Regions from separate parts of the Homo sapiens genome. Here region 1 is linked to region 2. The links are contacts of gene promoters, found by promoter capture Hi-C in human tissues and cell types (Jung and others, 2019). All regions are on one chromosome and are shown on one strand. Each heading gives the region's core, a stretch centred on a gene start or on the middle of the fragment in contact. The rest is flanking DNA. Distances are from core to core; before and after follow the strand shown.

Evidence for each region. The method cuts DNA at HindIII sites, captures the fragments that hold promoters and counts their contacts. A contact is called where the count stands out against the background at its distance.
Region 1: a contact is called between the fragment with the promoter of OTOP1 here and a fragment that was not itself captured in region 2, in 1 of the 25 tissues and cell types used here (lymphoblastoid cells).

Annotation. Positions count from the first base shown.
Region 1 is chr4:4,222,175-4,229,611 of GRCh38, reverse strand. OTOP1 (otopetrin 1) reads left to right here and starts at 2,683. Exons shown (of 6, transcript NM_177998.3): 1 at 2,683-3,150. The coding sequence starts at 2,748. RefSeq lists enhancers at 1,691-2,311, 2,933-3,553. The HindIII fragment of the contact is 12,453 bases long and covers 1-3,520 here.
Region 2 is chr4:4,182,875-4,189,503 of GRCh38, reverse strand. OTOP1 (otopetrin 1) reads left to right here. Exons shown (of 6, transcript NM_177998.3): 6 at 531-778. The coding sequence ends at 701. Among named protein-coding and RNA genes, the nearest start is that of OTOP1, 41 kb to the left of the region's middle. The HindIII fragment of the contact is 5,409 bases long and covers 2,214-6,629 here.

The DNA of each region.
Region 1 (7,437 bases), core at 1,434-3,933, 42 kb before region 2:
CTGAGGCAGGAGAATCGCTTGAACTCAGGAGGCAGAGGTTGCAGTGAGCTGAGATGATTGTGCCACTGCACTCCAGCTTGGGTAACAGAGTGAGACTCCATCTCAAAAAACCAACCAACCAACCAAACAAACAAACAAAAAAGTGCAGGTAGCCCAGAGACAGGCATTCCACTTGATTTTCAGATGGTGACTGAGCTTTATTTATCTTTGTACTCAACGGGTTAAGGTACTGCTAGCTGCTGTAACATTTCAGACTTTGGTGGCTTAGCACAATGGAAGTTTATTTCTCACTGATGTAAGGTCCAGCTTCGGGAGGAAAAGCCGCCTCACTAGTCACTGGGGAGACACGCAGACAGGCTCTTCCATCTTCAGCTCAGGCTCCCAGGTTGCTCTGGCTGTTGGTAGGAAGAGGAGGGGAGAAGGTGGAGGGTCCCTAGTAGGTTTGCTGGATCTTCTCTCTGGATTGCCTTTCCAGACCCCTGCTCCCTTCCGCCTGACCATCCACTCCTAAGCCTAAAGAATGTGCAGGAGGCTGGACGTGGTAGCTGGAGCCTGTGATCCCAGTGCTTTGGGAGGCTGAGGTAGGAGGATGGCTTGAGCCCAGGAGTTTGAGATCAACCTGAGCAACATAGTGAGACCCGTCTCTACAAAAAAACAATTTAAAAAAAATGAGCCAGGCGTGGTAGCACACACCTGTAGTCCCAGCTATTCGGGAGGCTGAGGCGGGAGGAGCACTTGAGCCCCAGAATTCGAGGCTGTAGTGAGCCATAATCACACCACTTCATTCCAGCCTGGGAGACACAGGGAGACCCTGTCCTTATTAAAAGATAAAAATAAGAGAAAGAAAGAAAGAAAGAAGACTGTGCAGGTGTTGCCTCCTCCCTGAACCTCTCAGCCTTCCTGCAGACCTGGACTCCTCCCAGGCCCCTGGTTGTAGCCCTGCTCAAGGGTGTTGTGCTGCTTACTCTGTCCCCACTCCCAAGCTCTTAGAAGTTGAGGGCTAAGTCTCACAGGTCATGATCCCCAGCTTCCCAGTGAGGGCTCATTAGCTGTTTGTTTATTGCTGTTTCTCTACCTGAACATCAGCTCCACCTGAGCAGAGCCTTTCATAGCTGAAAACCCAGCTGCTAGAACAGAGAGCAGCAAATGATTCATAGGTCAACACATACATATGTGTTGATCAAATGCATGAATGCGTGAATTGGAAGAATGATGGTGGCAAGGTAAGGTCCCCCAGGTTGACTCCTTGCTAGCCCAGGACTCCCCACCCCTCCTTTACTAGTCAGGACCTGCTATTGCAATTTGCTGCGCTTAGCGCAAAACAAAAACATGGGCCCTCTTGTTCAAAAATTAAGAATTTCAAGACGGCAAGAACCTTAAACCAAGAGCGAGAGGGTGTCTTCCGGGCCCAGCCCCGGGCTGCTGCACGGTGGGATGTGGGCTTGCCCCAGGCTCGCTCCCAACTCCCCTCTCCAACCTGCGGCTGGGGGGCTGGGGTCCGGCGCCTCCTGTCAGCCACGCCAGACCCGTAGAACGCTCTTCAGCTGAAACTTCCCAGACCTCCACTTAGCGGCACCCGAGCGGGGCTCCCTGGCAGACTCAGTCCCCTTCCGGGAGCAGGCGGGTGCCAGGCGGGCACCGGGGCTTTGGAAGGGGCTAGTGAAGACGCTTGGGCGCCGGTAGCAACAGGGCAGACCCCGGGGCGTCCCTCATTCCAGCTCCTCTGGGTCCAGAACGGCTGCCGCTCCTTTGGGGGAGGGTGCGGGATGGTCTCTTTTCTTAGAAAGTGGCTCAGGTCTTATTCTGCGCCTGGGCATCTCGCAGCCGACACACAGGCACACCAGACGGACAAACAGAAAAACCCACAGAAGGCGGCCCCTCCCCCAATTCAGAGAGCCAGTGACGGGCGCTCCTCCACCCCTAACCAGACACACCCGATAACAGACGGCCAGACACAGAGTGACCCGCACAGAGAAGACAATACAGAAATACGCAGGGACGAGTACAGACCGTCGGACGCTCGGACACGGACGCAGGCAGGATCCCCTGGACCTCTGGGTTCCCCAACGGAGACCCTCGGGGAAGGCCCGGAGCATCGCAAGCCCCTGTGGAGCCCCGGACGCCCCGCTTGGCAGCAGCCACGCCCCCCGCGCACACCCCCCTCGGGCTGGCTCCGGGAGACCCCCTCTCCCCAGTCCCGCAACCCCGGGACCCCGGCAGGCACTTCTTGTCACCCAGCGTTTCCGGGGCGCCCGGACAGGGGCTGGGTGGGCGGGCGTCGGCTCAGGGGTGAGGGCTGCAGACGGCGGGCGGGGGCCGGGCGCGCGGGCGGAGGTGCGGGAGGACGCGCTAGTGTCGCGGCAGGGCTGGCCAGTGTCCCAGGGATCAGGAGCGGGGAGCTGTCCGCGTGGGTCCCGGAGGGGGCAGATGGCTGCCCCGGGCGTTGCCCAGTGAGGGGCAGCGGGCAAGGGAGCTCGTAGAATCCCAGGTCAGCAGGGTGGGGCGCTGGGTAAGTGGACAGGGTGGTACCTTGACGGAGGACGAAGGGGCAGAAGAGGGGAGGGCGGGCGTCGGGAGGTGACAGGAGAGGGGGCAGGTTGGCAGGGGCGTGGGGTAGGAATCGGAAGGGAGTTGAAAAGGGAGGTGCTGGTTGGCAGAGGCGTCGGGGCAAGGACAGGAGCCAGGAGCGCAGGCGGGGCCCGACGGCAGCCACCCCCGGGACCAGACTTGGCGCGGGTGTCTCGAAGATGCTCGAGGGCCTGGGGTCGCCCGCCTCGCCCCGGGCAGCTGCAAGCGCCTCGGTCGCAGGGTCGTCGGGGCCAGCGGCCTGCTCGCCTCCCTCGTCCTCGGCCCCGAGGTCCCCGGAATCCCCGGCCCCCCGGCGGGGCGGTGTGCGCGCCAGCGTCCCACAGAAACTGGCCGAGATGCTGAGCAGCCAGTATGGGCTGATCGTGTTCGTGGCGGGGCTGCTGCTGCTGCTGGCCTGGGCCGTGCACGCCGCGGGCGTGAGCAAGAGCGACCTGCTGTGCTTCCTGACGGCGCTCATGCTGCTGCAGCTGCTGTGGATGCTGTGGTACGTGGGCCGCAGCTCCGCGCACCGCCGCCTCTTCCGCCTCAAGGACACGCACGCGGGTGCCGGCTGGCTGCGCGGTGAGTCCAGGCGCCGGGCGAGCGGGTCTCCGCCTCCTCGCCCGCTGGCTGCATCCTGAGGCTGCTCTGCGCCCTTCCTACCGCTGCCGTCTTCCCTTCAGCCTTTTCTGCCTTGGTCTCTCTGTGCATCTTTCCTAGCTTTCCTGTCTGCCCTTCCTTTCCTCTCTCTCTCTCTGAAGCTTGGGTCGCCGCAGGAGCCTCCTCTCCGCCTCCAGACGCTTCCATCATTACAGCCACAGTTACAGAAACCTCTCTTGTCCTTCCCTGACTTAAAGCCATGCAGTGGCCCTACTGACCCCATGATGGAGGCCACGCTCCCTCTCCTGACACTCAGAGCCTTCTAGCACTCGGCCCCCGAGGGCCCGTTTCCTTTGATCCCCTCCTTTGTTCTCATCCTGTGCTGGGGTCATTCTCGCGAACTTTCTCGCCCATCGCAGGACCTCTGCCTCTGCACATTCGGCACCTTCGGTTCTCTCCTCCAGGAATGTCTTTTCCACTTTCCCACCTGCCCCTCTGCTTTCCGAGACAGGGCTCAGGCCTCACCCCATTCTCCCCGCGAAGCTTCTCCGACCCCCTTCTCCTCCCGGCTTTGCAGGTCTGACCACATGCCCCCAGCCCGCACTGGGCTCCAGTGTTCTTGTCAACATGTCTGTACCCTCCACTCCACTGGGGAGCTCTGTGATCCCTGTCTCTCGGTCCTAGAGCCACCTCAGGGCCTGGCACGAAGTGGGTGTTGAGAAAATGAGGGGGTATGAATGAAATAATGAATGCGTGGATGCAGGGTGGGGCAAAGAGGGATAGAGGCTCCTGCTGGTACTCACAGGCATTGGCTGAAATTGTCAAGATAGGAGCTCTTTCTTCCTCAAGGGGCTGCCACATTTTTTTTTTTTTTTTTGAGACAATGTTGCTCTATCTCCCAGGCTGGAGTGCAGTGGCACAATCACAGCTCACTACAGCCTCTTCCTCCTGGGCTCAAGCAATCCTCCCACTTCAGCCTCCTGAATAGCTGGAACTATAGACACACATGGCCTTGCCCAGCTAAGTTTTGTTATATTTTGTACAGATAGGGCCTCGTTGTGTTGTCTCCTTTTCTCAAACTCCTGGCCTCCAGGGATCCTCCTGCCTTGGCCTCCCAAAATGCTGGGATCACAGGCATGAACCACTGTGCCTGGCTGGGGCTGCCAGTCTTGAATGGGAGACAGACATGGTGCAGGTGAAAGGGAGGAGGCCATGGGGAGCATGCTTGTGAAGAAAGCTTCTGTCTGAGTAACCTTCCCAGGAGAGGCCAAGTGCATTTCACACCACGTGGTCCAGGCACATCACACATTGCCACTTGGACTCTCATATTAGACCTGAATTTAAATCTCCATTAGAGTGGGGCTTCCGTGTTCCTTGCATGCATGACCTTGGGCAAGTTACCTGATTGCCTTCCTTACCCTGAACCCTGGTTTCAGCATCTGTAGAATGGGGATCTCAAACTGGATAAGATCCAGTGACTGATGAGGTGGCTGCCCAGCACACACTAGGCCTCCTTTCCACATTTCTTTCAAAGGTCCTGGCCAGATGCCACCTTCTTCACAAATGCCTGGCAGGAATTACTCCTCACTTCTATGGGCCACCATGGCCCCCTTTCTGTAAAGCTCTTTTGGTCCTTGTCCGTTTCTGCCTTGTATTATGACTGTTGGATATTAGCCTTACCATCCAGAAGAGATTTTAGACTTCTTAGGCTCAGGGACTGGATCTAGTTCATCTTGCTTTTGGGGAAATTTGACACCATTGCAGCGTGGCCCAAATTCCTGTTCTGAAAATGGTTGTTTTAGGGAAGTTAATGGTTTTGTGACTCTGTGAATGACAGTGAATCTGGTGCTATTTAAAACAAGGCACAAAGTGTTATTTTAGGATATTGACTTACACAGGCTAAAAAGTATTATACACATGAGCCTTTACCTGTGTTTTCCTATAGTCAAAGCCCCTTTTTTGTTCCTTCTTTCTCTCCTCCATCCTTTTTTCTCCCTTCTTCCTTCCCTCCTTCTCCTTTCCTTTCTTCCTCCTCCCTCCCTCCCTATTCCCTCGCCTTCCCTCCTCTCTGCCTTTCCTTCTTTATTTTTTTTTTTTGAGATGGAGTCTTGCCCTGTCGCCCAGGCTGGAGTGCAATGGTGCGATCTCGGCTCACTGCAACCTCCACCTCCCGGGTTCAAACGATTCTCCTGCCTCAGCCTCCCAAGTAGCTGGGATTATAGGCGCCTGCAACTATGCCCAGCTATTTTTTGTATCTTTAGTAGAGACGGGGTTTCATCATGTTGGCCAGACTGGTCTCAAACTCCTGACCTCGTGATCTGCCTGCCTCAGCCTCCCAAAGTGCTGGGATTACAGGTGTGAGCCACCATGCCTGGCCTCCCTTTCCTTATTTTTTTCCTCATTTTCTTTCTCTCTTCTCCTCCTTCATCTTTCCTTCCTCTCTTCCTTCCTCCATCCTTCTCTCCACTGTCCCTCTTCCCTCTCTCTCTCCTCTCTTTCTCTTCCTTCCTCTCTTCCTCTCTCCCCTGCTGTTTTTGTTTTTGTTTTTGTTTTTGAGATGGAATCTCACTCTGTTGCCAAGGCTGGAGTCATGGGTCACTGCGACCTCCACTTCCTGGGTTCAAGTGATTCTCCTGCCTCAGCCTCCTGAGTAGCTGGGACTACAGGTGCACATGCCACCACACCCAGCTAATTTTTGTATTTTTTAGTAGAGACAGTGTTTCACCATGTTGGCCAGGTTGGTCTCAAACTCCTGAGCTCAGGTTATCTGCCTGCCTTTGCCTCCCAAAGTGCTGAGATTACAGGCATGGGCCACCACGCCCGGCCTGGTGCATTTAGAATGTTCCTCCTTCTCCTTCTCCTTCTGCTCCTCCTTCTTCTTTTTTTCTACTCAGTCTGTGCTTATCCAAGAAATGCTCTTCCTTATGTTGAAGTGCAGTTAACTTCCTAGAACCATCATCCTCTTCCCCAGAGCTTCTATCATCATTCACTTATTCATCATCCATCCATCCATCCATCCATCCATCCATCCATCTGTCCGTCCATCCATCCATCCATGTTTTTTTGTTCTTCCTCTCTCTCTGCCTCCTTTCAGGTTGACTCCGAGCATTGGCACCTGAGTCTATGGGTGAATGGTTGCACCATTTCCCAAGATTGGGAAGCCAAAGGGAAGAGCAGGGTGGGGACACAAAACCAATGACATGTTACATTTCTCCTATGGACATGCTATGTTTGAGGTGTCTTTGGGACACTAAGTAGAGAGGGAATAAATGGGCAAGGTAGAGAGAGCACGTGATAGGTGTTCAGTAGATGACAGCTGTTTAGACATTCAGTGAGTTGCCCCATAATAATGTAATTCAAATGAGGTGTGTGTATCATGGAAATGGTGTTGGCTCTGGAAGGTTTGGCTTGAGGTCTCAGCTCTATCACCGTCACCTTTCTGAGTCCTGCTTTCCTCATCAGTAAGATAAGAATCCCAGCTGCCTCTCTGGGAGGAGCTGGGGGATGTTGAGAGAAGCAGTTTGCAAAGCCCTGGCCATTCCTGTGGGTTCCTCAAAGAAGCAAGAAGCTAATTATTAGTGTTGGGAGGCCCTGGTGCCAAAAGGAAGCACCTTCAGCCCCAACAGGGACTGGGGTTTCCTCTGGAATTCTAGCTAGAAAGACAGGTTTGACTCAGGAACTCAGCTCTGCCCTGGTGTTCGTGACAATCTTAGATCAATAGGCAGAGGGCAAGTCCCTCAGGAAAAAGAGCAGTGATCCCCAAGATCCATTCTGGGGCCACTATGAGGGTCTTGCTTAACTCCATGCATTTTCTTACATATTTGTTTTCTTAGATGATATTTCTGGTCCAGTGGAAAATATAGACATAGTGTCATGATTTCAACACAAACAAGCGAATGTGGCTGCCAAAAAATCAGATGCGGGCTTGGCTTTCATTGGAAAGGAAATCAGACTGTGTGTGGAGGGTCTCATCCTCCTTGAGCATTTCACAGGCCACTGGAAAGAGTGGCGGCAGGAGGAGCAAAAGGAGGGTCAGTCCAGAAGAGAGAAGGATGCGGAGGTCACAGGGTAGAAAGTGCTGCTGCCTTGCACCTGTCAGCTCCAGGCCATCCTCTGTCTTTCAGCAAGCAAGAGTCATTTCCTCTGGGAAGCCTCTCCCGATAGTTTCAGACCAGGGGCAGCCCCCAGGTTGTATGGTCTCATAGCACTCTTCATTTTCTTTCTAGCACTAATCAAGCAGGAGATTGTATTATTCAGTGACTGTTGGGG
Region 2 (6,629 bases), core at 3,669-6,168:
GGAGTGGAGGAAGCTGAAGAAGGCTACAGCCGGAAGCGGGAGTGAGGAGCCTGACAACTCAAGAGGTGGCACAGGGGGAGAGAACTGGGACACAAAAGAGTCTGAGAAGCAGGGAACAGTGTGTAGGTTCCGTGAACAACACAAACAAAAGTCATTGCTTTCAGTTTTGCAAACTTAATTCTCATCTAAGCCCTCTCAGACACGTGTTAGAATTCCCATCTTTCAAATGAGGAAACCGAGGCTGGGCGAGGGCTGTAGGGATGGAAAGAGTTGGATGGGTTCAGAAAGTGCTCATTCAGGATGGATTGCAGGGAAGGGTGGTTGAGGAAGTGAGCAGGATCATGGCAGACATGGATTTGGTGGTTTCTGTGGAGATGGGAAATGCCATGAGGTCTCCTTATTGTTCTGTCAGGGGTGACTCAGTCCCTGTGCATTAGGTTCAGCTCCCATGAGGCCTGGGACTTGAGTGGGGCCTCCGTGGTGGCTTGGAAGCTGCTCCCCACCACATGCCATTTTCTCTTCTCTTGCAGCTTTGGATACCTCCCGCCTTTGGCTGTCGACCTGAGTATGACAATGGATTGGAGGAGATTGTCTTTGGCTTTGAACCCTGGATAATTGTGGTCAACCTGGCCATGCCTTTTTCTATTTTCTATCGAATGCACGCAGCTGCCTCCCTCTTTGAGGTCTATTGTAAGATATAGTCTGGGTCCACAAGAGACCTAGGAGTGAGCTAACAAGAGTTCATTGGAGCCAACTAGGAGTGGCCAGGTTGGGCAAATATTGCCTGACAAATATGAGAAGGGCCACCTTTTGTCTGCAAAGATTGTGCTTCCTGTGGGCTGGAACTGCCCATCACCCCTGATGAATGTAAACAAGTTAGATCAAAATCCATGAGGTGGCTGGAATCTGTCCTTGGTTAGTTAAATGCTAATCAAGCCCAAATTATTTTATTTCCTTCTAAATGATTTAGAAGAATGTGATTCTGGCTTGGGAAAAAATCTATCCAGTTTGTTTTTCATAAAAAGCATTTTCTTTGTGTCATTTATCATGTGACTCCATACAACCTTTTCCTGACCACCTGCATAGTAATTTACACTTTAAAAATTTATCCTTCTCAAAGCCTATGAATTTAGACACAATCACAATGAGTTTATATTGTTTCTGAATAGGTTTAATTTCTTGAAGTTATTTTTATCATCTGGATAGAAATTTGTGTACAGACCAATATAAAAACATATTTCTTACCTGAAATGTTGACACATTTTTGTGATCATTTTCAAGTATTTTTAAAAGGAAATTTCACTATTCTCTCTTTCACTGTAAACACTTACATGTTTATTGTAAAAAATTTGGATATTTCAGAAAAGTAGAGAGAAAAAGTCACCTATGATGCCATTGTTCAATTAACAATTACTTTTAATATCTTGGTGTATTTCTTCCAACCATGTTGATGAGATTCTTTTTATTGTCATTATTATACCTTTGAATGATGATGTAACATATTTGATTTTGTATTCAGTTATTTTCCCACTTAACAATATGGCATAAACCTTGCCCCCATATTGTTATAAATTCTTTATAAATATCATTTTAATGCTGTATGATAGTCTATCAAGTGAATGTACCTTAATTAACATAGTTTCCTATGGTTGGTTTTACAGTGTTTATAACTTTTTGCTTTTATAAGTAACTCTGAAAAATCAACCATATTTGTGAAGCATTTCCTATATTTAGAATTGCTTCTTTAAGATATGAAATTACAATTAGGATGCCTAGCCCAAAGATTAAGATTATAAATATTTCAAAGGTGCCTAAGGAATATTGACATTTGGGAGGACTTTGTATAGTTTTTCCATAGCTATTTTAAAATAATAATAAAATTAATTTTCTTACTGTAAGTATTAAAGTGAATATGTTTTCATTTGAGTGTATTTTTTTCAGACAGTGCAGGCAATGGGACAGTAATAAATACAAAGTTTTTTTTAATATGACTAAAGTACACTTATTTTAGAAAAAACTAAAAAATAGGCATATATACTAAAAAACAAAGGAAAACATCATCTATACATGTCCCATCTAGAGAATCGGTTCTCCACCTGGGGACCTTGTTCCTTGAGGGGACATTTAGCAATATCTGAGGACATTTTTTAATATTTATTTTTTATTAAAATTAAAATAAATCTAAATTATGCATAATATTTGTACATACTTACAGGGTACATGTGATATTTTGATATAAACATATAATAAGTAATAATCAAATCAGGGTGACTGAGATATTCATACCCTAAAGTATATATCTTTTTTTGTGTTAGGAACAACGTAATTTCACTATGTTTGTTACTCTAAAATATACAATAAATTATTGTTAACTATAGTTGCGCTTTCGTGCTACCAAACACATTTTTGATTGTTACACTACTGCACCCATGGATACGGCTAACACCCTACAACATACAGGACAGCCCCACCACAAAGAGTCTTTGGGCTGATTGTCAATGGTGCTGAGGTAATCTAGAGGTAACTGCTGTTAAGTATTAGTACATGCACACAGGCTGGGCGTGGTGGCTCACACCTGTAATCCCAATACTTTGGGAGGCTGACGCGGAAGGATCGCTTGAGGCCAAGAGTTTAAGACCAGCCAGGGAACACAAACATAGTGAGACCCTGTCTGTACAAAAAACAAAACAAAACAAAACAAAAAACCCATTTGCGGTGGAGTATGCCTGTAGTCCCAGCTACTCATGAGGCTGAGTGGAGAGGATCACTTGAGCCCAGGAGTTTGAGATTGGGTAGTGAGCCAAGATCGTGCCACTGCATTCTAGCTTGGGTGACACAGCAGGACCCTGTCTCTAAAAAATAAAAATTAAAAAAAATTATATATATATATTTATTTTTATTTTTTTGAGACGGACTTTCACTCTTGTTGCCCAGGCTGGAGTGCAATGGCATGACCTTGGTTCACTGTAACCACCGCCTCCTGGGTTCAAGCGACTCTCCTGCCTCAGCCTCCGAAGTAACTGGGATTACAGATGCCTACCACCACGCCCAGCTAATTTTTGTATTTTTAGTACAGACAGGGTTTTACCATGTTGGCCAGGCTGGCCTCGAACTCCTGACCTCAGGTGATCCACCCACCTTGGCCTCCCAAAGTGCTGGGATTACAGACGTGAGCCACTGCAACCAGCTGATAATTTTTTTTTTTTTCAAAAGTATGCATACACCCACACCCACATGAAGGGGGTGGTTTTTATATATACTGCGTTTGTATGTAACTTGCTTTTTTCCTCTTGATACACCAGAGTGCTTCTTCCCTGTTTTGGGTCCCAGGCATCGACGCTCTGGCTTTAGTGTGCCTGAGACTCATCTGGGGAACTTGGTAGGATTCCTGCCCTCCAATATGGAAGTTCAGATTCAGTCTGGAGGGGGGCCCGGAAGTCTGCACTTTCATGAGTATCTCAGGGGATGCCAATTCCCTTTGAGAAGCATCTCCTTGGGAGTCCATGGACCACAAGCTAGGACTCCTGAGCAAGTTTCCTTGACATTGTATATCCATGTGCAGTATGATTTTGGGTGGCTTTAAAGTACACTCCATGGAAGGATGTACCATTCCTTATTTTTTCAAACCGTGATGTTGGACATTTAGAGATATTTAGGTGGTTCCTTTTTTTTGGTGCTACTGTAAACAATGCTATGGTGATCATCTTTGTAATTGAGTCTTTGAGGTCAGTGACAAACTGTCCTCTGGAGTGATTTACGCTGACTCAGCAGTGACTGAGTGGGAATACCGGTTTCCTCATTTTGGTTGGCATTACCTTTACCCCCATTCTAAGCACATTAGAACAGCCCTGAGGCCTCAGCTTTGGGTTTTGGGCTCTGCCAAGGAGAAGAAAAGGAGCCATCATTATGCTGGGAATGATGGATCCAGGTTGTGGGGATGCTATTGTGGACACATGGCAGCATCAGAGCTTGGAAAAGCCTGCATGGCTGGCTGCGCTCAGCGTTTCCAAGAAAGGATCTAAAGATGGATGAAGCATCTCTTATCCTCAACAGGCAGCCTCAGGGATGGCTATTTCAGCCAGGTGCTTTTTACCTCTAAGTAATTAAGCATCCTGATTCAACCAGCCTAGGTGGCAAGGAAAATTTACTATCTTAATGCCAAGGCAATTTGCCAAAGAGGAACCAGAATGTGCAATACACAAGTGTTAAGGTCTCAGGGATTAATACACGGAATACAAATTGAAATAATAATGAGTTACTACTTCCCATTCATTAGACTGGCAAGAGTTGGCAAGAAGTGAAAGAAAGACCCATATATACTGCTAGTGGGAGCGTAAATGAATAAAATCAGATTGGACAGCAATTGGCAATATTGACTAAGGCTGGAGGTACACATTCCTTATGAGCTAAGAATTCTGTTCCTTGGCATGTGCTCCAGAGACAGCCTCACACCTGTGTTCAGGAATGTGCACTCAGCATCACTTGTAATTAGGAAAATGGAAAACAGCCTAAATGCCTGTCAATTAGGAGTGCAGATAGGCACACCAGGGACTATTTCCATGATGGACTATTTCACAAAAGGAAAAAATGAACACAAGAGAATTCAGGTATCAACATGGATAGTCCCCCAAAACAATGTTGAATGAAACATTAAGTAGCGCAGGCATATAATTGGTATGATACCATTAATATGATGTCTAGGAACAAGCAAAACAATCCCTGATATTGCTGGGGGATATGTCCATATGCAGTAAGATTACAAACACACCTGAAGAAAGAATGCACGCCAAGTTCAGCGTAGTGAGAAGGGGAGGGGCTTGGAACCAGCAACTGATTTCATGCTGTGTCTGAAATACTTTTTCTTAAGCAAAGAGGTATTCATTATGTTTTCTCTGCACTCTTAAAACGTACTCTTTAAATATACTTTTAATGTATTTTAAAGAAACTTTAAATGAGATATTTCATAATACAAGTATTTGAGAGCAAGAAAAAAAGAAAGTCCATACAAGGAAGATGAACTTAGACACAGCTACCCAAGCAGGTAAATTTCCAGCATTCATCCATCATTGTTGAGAGATGGGTGTCAAAGCCAGTGGTGTTCTGTTCTCCTTGGCAGGTAAATCCCCAAGGTGGGGTAGCTCAATGCAATTAGCTGGTAAGATCACCGGACTCACTCTTCCACGGACGCCTCTGTGCACATTAGGAAACCTGACATTGGTTTGCCTTCCAATGTCGCTATTTGCTGTGGGGACAATGCCCCGGGCACACATATTATCAGGACAACCTGCAATGGACTGGATGTTTGTTTCCCCCTTAAATTCATATATTGAAGCTTAATGGCAATGTGGTGGTATTTGGAGGTGGGGTCTTTGGGAGGTAATGAGGTCATGATGGTAGGACCCTTGTGAATGGGATTAGCACCTGTAAGAGGGGGCCAGAGAGCTTGTGCACTTCTTTTCTGTCATATGAGGATGCAATGAGAAGACAGCTGTCTGTGACCCGGAAGAGGGCCCTCACCAGAACCCGACCATGCCAGCACTGGCACCCTGATCTTGGGCTTCCAGCCTCCAGACCTGTGAGAAATAAATGCCTGTTGTTGATTAGCCACTCAGCTTGTGCTGTTTTATTGTAGCAGCTTGCACTGAGTAAGTTATTCCCTTACCTGCTGTAACCGTATACAGGAGGGGCCTGTGCATTTGGTAGCTTGGGTTCTTCCCTGAGCCTGTGAAACTCAGATTTGAACTCATTTATTTTGGGTGCCATGACTCTTGTCGAGGCAGGGTGGAAGGGCACGGGCACGGAGCCAGATATCCAGGGTGACAACAGGCTCCCATGGTGCCTGAGTGTGCATTAAAAAAGCACCCCTTCCACAAGACTGTCGAACCAAACCCACCAGCATCTTCCTACCTGCCCATGCGCGGGAGGCAAATTAGACCTGTTTGTCTCCCCACCACAAATGTCGGCCAAAAGTTCCAACTGGAAAATGCTTGCTATTACCTTCCAGTTGCACGACCCTCTCAGCTAACGAAGCCCTTCTCGCATCCATCTCCCTCCACGCCTGCCTGTGAAGTCCCAGCTCACAGATGACCTGGTTAGGTAAGCACTGTTATTTTGTTTGAACAGAGGGAACCTTTGGATCACATGTACATAGCTAGTCAGTGGCAGCATTTGGTTCCTCATGCCGGTTTTAAAAACTCCATTGCCTTTTCTTTTCATTAGTCATATCATCTTATGAAGAAAGTCAACTCAGTAAAAATATCCTTCAAACAATAGCTCAGGGATATGCGTACAGAACAATCTAGTCAGCTGACAGAATATCTGGCTTTTCATCCAGTTATAAAATGCTGCACTTTGCTTAACATGGTGAAGAGTGAAAGCTGCTAACAGCTGGTTTCTTTCTCCAAAAATGTGAGCCCTGCTATGGGAGAGCGCAACCAGCAGGGGGCGCCAGCGCCTTTCCCTGAACTTCAGGGCAAGCTTGAGACCGGGGTACCTGGAGGGTGGGCAGTGGCCTCAAGGTACCAAACGAATGGGTGGGCGCAAGGTGTGCTGATTGGACTCCATTGGCTGCGCTGGGTTCCCGTAGCGTATGTGAGAGATACCTGTCACCACTTCCCGGCTAAGACCCA